2 separate regions of the Homo sapiens genome follow, and region 1 is linked to region 2. Evidence: promoter capture Hi-C in human tissues and cell types (Jung and others, 2019). All regions are on one chromosome and are shown on one strand. The core of a region is centred on a gene start or on the middle of the fragment in contact, and the rest is flanking DNA. Distances in the headings are between cores, read along the strand shown.

Evidence for each region. Contacts are between HindIII fragments. The study calls those that stand out against the background at their distance.
Region 1: a contact is called between a fragment that was not itself captured here and the fragment with the promoter of ADIPOR2 in region 2, in 2 of the 25 tissues and cell types used here (aorta and heart left ventricle).

What each region holds. Positions count from the first base shown.
Region 1 is chr12:1,975,668-1,979,466 of GRCh38, reverse strand. All of the region lies in intron 3 of DCP1B (decapping mRNA 1B), which reads left to right. It also overlaps a transcript of CACNA1C not described here. Among named protein-coding and RNA genes, the nearest start is that of DCP1B, 27 kb to the left of the region's middle. The HindIII fragment of the contact is 3,462 bases long and covers 1-3,404 here.
Region 2 is chr12:1,689,802-1,693,753 of GRCh38, reverse strand. ADIPOR2 (adiponectin receptor 2) reads right to left here and starts at 2,684. Exons shown (of 8, transcript NM_024551.3): 1 at 2,563-2,684. RefSeq lists silencers at 2,382-2,471, 2,492-2,791 and enhancers at 2,290-2,868, 2,952-3,001, 3,022-3,181. The HindIII fragment of the contact is 10,259 bases long and covers 1,507-3,952 here.

The DNA of each region.
Region 1 (3,799 bases), core at 424-2,923, 290 kb before region 2:
GGTGGCAGGCCCCTGTGATCCCAGCTACTGGGGAGGCCAAGGCAGGATCACTTGAACCCTGAAGGTGGAGGTTGTAGTGAGCCAAGATGGCACCACTGCACTCCAGCCTGGGCGATGAAGCCAGACTCCGTCTCAAAGACAAACAAACAAAAAATCCAGGCGCTGTGGCTCACGCTTGTAATCCCAACACTTTGGGAGGCCGAAGCAGGCGGATCACCTGAGGTCAGGAGTTTGAGACCAGCCTGGCCAACATGGCGAAACCCCATCTCTACTAAAAATAAAAAAAATTAGCCAGGCTCGATGGCGGGCACGTGTAATCCCAGCCACTTGGGAGCCTGAGGCAGGAGAATTTCTTGAACGCGGGAGGCGGAGGTTGCAGCAGTGAGCCAAGATCGCGCCATTGCACTCCAGCCTGGGTGACAGAGTGAGACTCCGAAAGCACATGTCCACACAAAGACTTTTACACAAATGCTCAAAGCAGTTTTATTCATAATAGCAAAAAACTCTGGTAATAACCTGGATACCCATTAATAGTTACATAGATGAACAAATTTTGGTATATAATAATAGAACACTACTCAGCGATAAGAAGAAATGAACTACTGATATATTCAACAACATGAATTAATTTCAGAAACATGTTGAGCAAAGCAAGCCATCTACAAAAGAGGATATACTGTACGACCCCATTTATATGAAGTTTATATGAAGTTGAAGAACAGGCAAAACTAATCTAGGGTGATAGAAGTAAAAAATTGGTTGTCTCTGCTGGGGCTGGTGGTGGAAGTGGGGTGTGGTTGTTGACTGGAAAAGAGTGATAAAAATATTTTATATCTTGTTTTCAGTGTTGGTTACATAAGAGTGTTTTATTGCCAACTCACTGAGCAGAACACTTTAAGATCTGTGCATTTTCTTGTACATAAATGATTCTTCAATGTAAGAAAGTAGAAATAATTGAACCTTATAAAAGAAGTATTTAAATAAATGAAAATTTAAGGATAATTTTTTACCCTTCTTTATTTTCCTGACATTTATTAACCAGTGTTTCTGCTAACCCTGATCTCTGCTGTGTTGGTTAGAATATTACACTAACTCTTTATTACTTTGCGTCTTGGCTTTTTCAACCTGGAAATAAAGCAGTCCTTGTTCTAAAACACATCTTCAGTACTTTAAACCAACATAATACCAAAAGCTTGATGTCAACTGAAAGCCCCAAGTAATGTGAGGTAATAGAAATAGTTGAGTCTGCATTTCTAGTTTCCAGATCAGTGAGAAGGCTATGCCCCCTTTCTCTGGGTTGCGACATCTGCTTTCTCCCCATGGTCAGAGAAGCAAGATTTCTCTTTGCCAAAAATATGGAAACCGTATAACTTAATATTTTTCCTGAGTGGAAGGAATTAACCTTCCACTTCTCTCTTGAGAGTCAATTTTTTTAAATGTCAATTTCCTAGCAAAGAGGAGCCTTAGCATTATTCTGCAGTGCTTTCTCTAGAATGAAACATATAAAAACAATACAGTTTAAAAATATAATAGTAGATATTTTCTTGGTGGCTATTATAGAACATCTTATGAAGTATAAACTTGATTGTCTTCCAAAGCTCCAAAGTTAAAGTGTACCTGTATATACCCATAGTAAATAATAGCAGTAAGAAAGTCAAATTTAGAGAACAATGATGAGTCATAATTTGGAAACAATATTGCTCACTATACTTAGAATGCATTTTGTAAAACGTTTTCTCTGCCACTATGTTACCATTAATTAATTGGTTGCTAATTATCTAGGCTATTGAGAAGGCAGTGGTATGGATAATAAATTACAGGCCCCTTATGGGCAAAGACCATATCTTATATTTTACTTATATTCTGTGGTGCCAAATAAACACAGGAAATAAACAGATTTAGATAAGAAATAGACATGTACAGTGTACTTAACAAAATTCGCAAATCACTTATATTCTAGAATTGTTATATGTGTATATGTGTATCTGATGATTTTGTGTGGCATCTGGAACATCAGAATGCATAAGACAAAGCTTTGAAGATACGCTGCTTGGAGTGATCAAGCAGGAGTCACAAAGTTGTCGAGCTTTCCAAAATGTCTTCCTGTTTCCCACTTCATGGTAGAGACGGAGAATGACACCTCTCCAACGAAGGCAAACCAGTAGCCACAGCTGAACTGTGTGATTCACCCTCATCATGGCCGAGCATGCTAACAGATCTGTGCTTTTTAAGCTTTCTCCTAGGCTTCAGGCTACATGGAGGAATAAAAGCTCTTCCAACTTAACAAATTCTAAGACTTGGAGACTTTGTTACGTCTTTTCTTAACCTTGCAATCAGTTTAGGCAGTGATTACAAAAGCAATCTGGAAAGTTAAAAGTGAACTCTGTGTAAATTTATTACCAAGTAAATGAAAGACACATTATCTGCCCAGAGATAACTGAGGGTTGTTTTCCATTCTAGGATATTTATTGGCATATTGATAGTCGCAAATAGTAGTTCCTAATCTTCTGTGAGTCACAAACCCCTATGAGAATCTGAAGACTTTTCTTCTTCCCTTTTTTCCTTCATTTCTTCCTTCTTTACTTCCTACTTTCCTTCCTCCCCCTCCCTCCCTCCCTCTCCCCCTTTCCTCAAATATATTTGCTTGACTGCTGTGTGCCAGACATTGTTTTAGAGGGTCTATGCTTTGCACTTTTTCACCTCCCAAAATTTGCATATATACATGACATTTTGCATATAGTTTTAGGGATTTTATTGAACCCCTAAAGCTCTCTAGGGTCAAGAAACTAATATTTAAAGTAACTATATGGCTAAAAATACTTGACATTCTTACTAGGCAAAAACTTAGTATTTGCAGGAATAACAGAATACATTTCTCTTCGGGATCTGCCCAGGAAGACAAGACCTTAAAGTAGACTCATTCACATCATGAGCAGTGAGGAATGGGAGCCGAGGAATTTGACATTTCATATTTAGTCAGAATAGGTAACCTATACAGTCTTGAGGCTCTTTTACTGTATGTGAGAGGAGTGGTTGGTTGAATTAGAAACTTTCAAGGACTCCTTTTAAGCCTGCATTTAATGAGAAAGAAAGAAGAGCCACCAAAATTTAAAAATCATAATGTGGTCACTGAATCTTACTTTGTGTCTCTAAGTCTCCTTTGCCATTCCGACTGAAAAATTGATCTATTTATTATGCACCATTGCTTAGAGAGCTAACATGTTAATATATGATAAAGGGTTATACGTCTACTGTGACTTGAGTGATGAAACTTGTCACTGTGACCTTTAATCCAAAATGACTTTTTTGTTCTCTGTCAGTACTCCACTTAGGCTGAAAGGAAGGGATCTAAACTCTAAAGAAAACTATCCATCTAAAGAAAGGCTCTGAAAAATCTCAAGTAAAGCAGAATTTCACTCTTGAGCCTTGTGGTATCTCTGGATTTCGTATTTCTATTTTTCTGTGTGTTGAGTTGTGACACCAGATAGTTCCTTGAAACACACACATAAGCAGATACACAGTGTGAGTAAACAACCCTTCTCTTCACCCTGACCATCCAATTAACACAGTTTCTACTTCTCCATCATAACTGCCAGGGGACTCACGGAGAGAACCTTCATGTGAATATATACATTTCTTATGTAACTTAACAATCTGACATGCTGAGGTGAGGAAAAACCCATGTGGCAAAGTCATATATGGTGATTTACAGCTGCTACAAAGTAAAGTCACTTGTTTTATCCTAAACCATAAAGACTATTAAGGTTCTCAGCTTGACCAAGAAAACATAGTAATGCTA
Region 2 (3,952 bases), core at 1,435-3,934:
CAGCCTGGCCAACATGGTGAAACCCCGTCTCTACTAAAAATACAAAAAAAAAATTGGCCGGGCTTGGTGGCGCACACCTGTAATCCCAGCTACTAGGGAGGCTGAGGCAGGAGAATTGCTTGAACCCAGGAGGCAGAGGTTGCAGTGAGCCAAGATCGTGCCATTGCACTCCAGCCTGGGCAACAAGAACGAAACTCCGTCTCAAAAAACAAAATGAACAAAAAAAAAAAAAAGCAGATTACAAACCAACATTTATCAATTTGAGTTCATTTATATAAAAAATAATCACCAACAAATTCTATAATCACAGAAAAAAAGCCCCAAGTGGTGTACTTGTAAATAACTTTTACTTTCTCCTTTACAATTTTCTGACTCATTTAAATTTTCAACATTGACTATGTATCATTTTTAATGGAGCTCGGCAAACTTTTTATATTAAGGTCCACATAGTAAATAAATATAAGGTGTTACAGGCCACATGGCTCTCTGGCACAACTACTCAACTCTGCTGCTGTACCCCAAAAGAAACTACAGACAATACCTAAACGACTGCATATGGCTATGTTCTAATAAAAACTTTTTTCTTCCTCTTTTTTTTAAGACGGAGTTTCGCTCTTGTTGTCCAGACTGGAGTGCAATGGTGCAATCTTGGCTCACTGCAACCTCTACCTCCCGGGTTTAAACGATTCTCCTGCCTCAGCCTCCCGGGCAGCTGGGATAACAAGAGTGCGCCACCACACCCGGCTAATTTTTGTAGTTTTAATAGGGACGGGGTTTCACCATGTTGGCCAAGCTGGTCTCAAACTCCTGATCTCAGGTTATCTGCCCGCCTCGACCTCCCAAAGTGCTGGGATTACCAGCGTGAGCGATCGCACCAGGCCTAATCAAATCTTTATTTACAAAAAGAGGCAACTGGCAGGACTGGGCCTGCAGGCTTTAAAATCTGTCAATCCCTGAAATAAAGAATAAAACAAAATTATTTTCATTTTAGGAAACAAAATGTGATTTATACTAAAAAAAAAAAGTGCACCAGCTAAATTGATACTATTGATAGAAAAAACCATTTATTTATAAATTCATACAAGGAGCCTAGGGATAGAAAAAAAAAACAAACTCTCTTTTAGGCTCTGGAAATCCTACTCCCATTCCTAGTGTCAAGTGAAAAGAGGAAATCTGCTAAGCAGACCAAAGTCTAGATAGGAACGTATACTGGAGGACAGACAGTTACAATCAGAAGTTAAAAGAAATATGCCTTTCACATTTAATTTGCAATTTTTTCAAATTTCATAATTCACCAACAAGCAGCTGCCACATGTGTGGAAATCTTTACTGATGAAATAATTTTAGTTGCAGATCATCACAATCAACACTCTGACAACAAATTTATCAGAACGGATGAAAACATCTAGGAATTACCTAAGAGTCGTTTAAGGAGACATAAGGGTGGCCTTTGATAAGAGGTCACTTCAAACTTTCAGAACTGACAAGACGTATAGCCTCCCCCCAAAAAATAATGCTATGGGTAGATGGATGCTTTTTTCTGAAGGAATTTTTAGCATTTCATTTGGAAAAGTTCTGTGATCAAATAATGCTAAATGTTATGACAGCTTTCTTGGCGTTTAAAGGGATTCTCTGGGTGAGGGGAAGGGGTGATAAAAAAAAAAAAAGTCTGCTTTTGGAACAGAAATGGGGGACAATAACCAAGGCTCAGAAACCCAGAGTCAAAAAATTAAAAGAACATCTTATTTTAAAAAAAAAGTCAACAACCTGCAATGAAGTCACCGTACCCCCATAAAATCCCAACTGTGCATTTAAATCTTTCTACCAAAATTCACTTTTGGACCATCTTATGAAGTTGTCAAAATTTCAGAGGCAAACGCTTAAATCAAGATCAAAAGCCAGGAGGAAAAAAGAGCTAACAGTTTCCAACCCAAACTCTCTCCGAGCCCCCTAAAAACTGATTTATAACCCTGTCATCGGTAATTTTAGAAGAAGCGAACACTGACGGACGGGGGCTTGGGAAAACAGGACTCCAGGTACCAAGCAGGCTGCCTGACGCGCCACCTGAAAAAGGTGAGGGAACTCTTCCCCACCCCAGTCACTGTGAAAGTAGCGCTGAGAGAGCCCATCCCAAGCCTCCACCAAACAAATTCCTAGAAGTGATAAAAACAGACAAGAGACGAAGAGGGGCGGGCAGATCCTCTCCGCGGGCAGGGAGCTGGAGCAACTGCACCCGAAGGTGAGCAGAGGGCAGCAGGCTCCGACCCTCCGCCGCGAAAGGCGAGGCGAGGGGAACAGCGGGCGCCGGACTCCTCCGACAGCGGTCGCAAGGAGGGCGGCTCCAGGTCCCCACACGGCCGACCCTCAGGCCAAGGCGCGCCGGGCGGCAGGTCAGAGTTAGGAATCAAGTTGCGGGCCGGGCCGAGAGCGCGCTCTCCCGCCCGCGCCAGGGACATTCGCCCCTCAGCTCTCACCTCCCCCCGACCCCAAGCTCTCCCTCTGCGCCCAGGAAACGGCGCCCACACTCCAGAGACCCTCACCCGGAGCCCGTCGCCGCCTCACCGCGTGTCTCGGACTTCTTGGGAGCCACCGCTGAGGGGAGGGGGGAGGAGGGGGGAACGGAGGAGGGAGGGGGCCAAGCCCGGTGTAGCCGCCGCCGCTGCCGCCGCCGCGATGCCGCTTCTGGAATCGCGCTCTCGCCGCCGCGACAGCGACCGCCGCCGCCGCGTCTCCCCGCCCCCACGACCGCACGTCGCCGTGACGCGCATCGCACGAGGCGGTTCGAGCCAATAAGACCACACGCCGTGCGCAGCCGCGCTGTCCTAAACCGGAAGCCGCCCCTCTGACCGCTCTAAAACCTGGGTGCATCGTGGGAGCTGTGGTTCGGCCAGGAACTTAGCGAAAACTATACTGGGTGTTGAGGGCCGGAGGAGCGTGCGCTCCTTAGGCGCTCACACAACTCCTCGGAGTTTTTTCTCCCACCGAAAAAGGAAGCAATTTGGAGCTGAGGAGGAGGGGGCCGCCCCGGCTCGCGGATGCTTTTCGCAGTCTCTATGGATACTGGCTACACACTTTGGGCAAGAGCCAGAATTTGAGGATTTAGGCTGGATCGTGTGTCTCTGCCAAGGGCTGATAGGATGCTGAGCGTCGTCTGTGAAGACTGCGGAAAGAAATCCAAAAGCATTAGCCCAGTTTTGCCCAGAGCAATAGTGTTTGCCTTTTATTACCTTATTAAAGATTATGATTTATGCTCTACCACTTCTATTTTTTTTAAAACCCAGTCACTCTTAAAATACATATAATTCAGAGCGATTTTTAAAATGATGTTAATGTAATGGTATATCAGAACCTACTTAAGCACTAAATACCTGCGTCCATTTACCCAGAATGAGTAAGTAATTTTCCACAAGTCATCTTTACGTTGAGTTCTAACTTCTTAGAAGCCAAGAACAGATTTGGTTACGTACTTATTCTATAAGAAAAGTGAATATAAGAGTTAGTCTGCGTAGAAAAATAGTTCTTTACATTCAGTAGGAGGGGGAATTTATCACATTCTTAAGGCGTAAATGCCTTAACTATCAAAATTCTTGTTATTGACTAAAGGAAATCCATACGATTTAGGGAAAGTCTGTGCCCACGGCTTACTGTCCTTACCTTTGGACCACAGCAAGAGATAACAAAGGGTGCAGGGAAAAGCTGACAGGTCTTGAGGGAGCTGGAGTCGGATATATGACGAAAAAAACAAAAATACAGAAGTCTTCATTATGGAAATGTAAGTTTTAAAAAGTAAAGCTACTAAAATCACAAAGAACATGATTAAGATGGCAATAATACAGAACTAAGGCCCACTCATTTAAGCTTGAAAGAGATAAAACTAGTAGAAATTAAAATTAGGAAATAAATGTTAAAGGAACTAATTTCCTCCAAGGAGTGGTTTACATTGAAAATATAA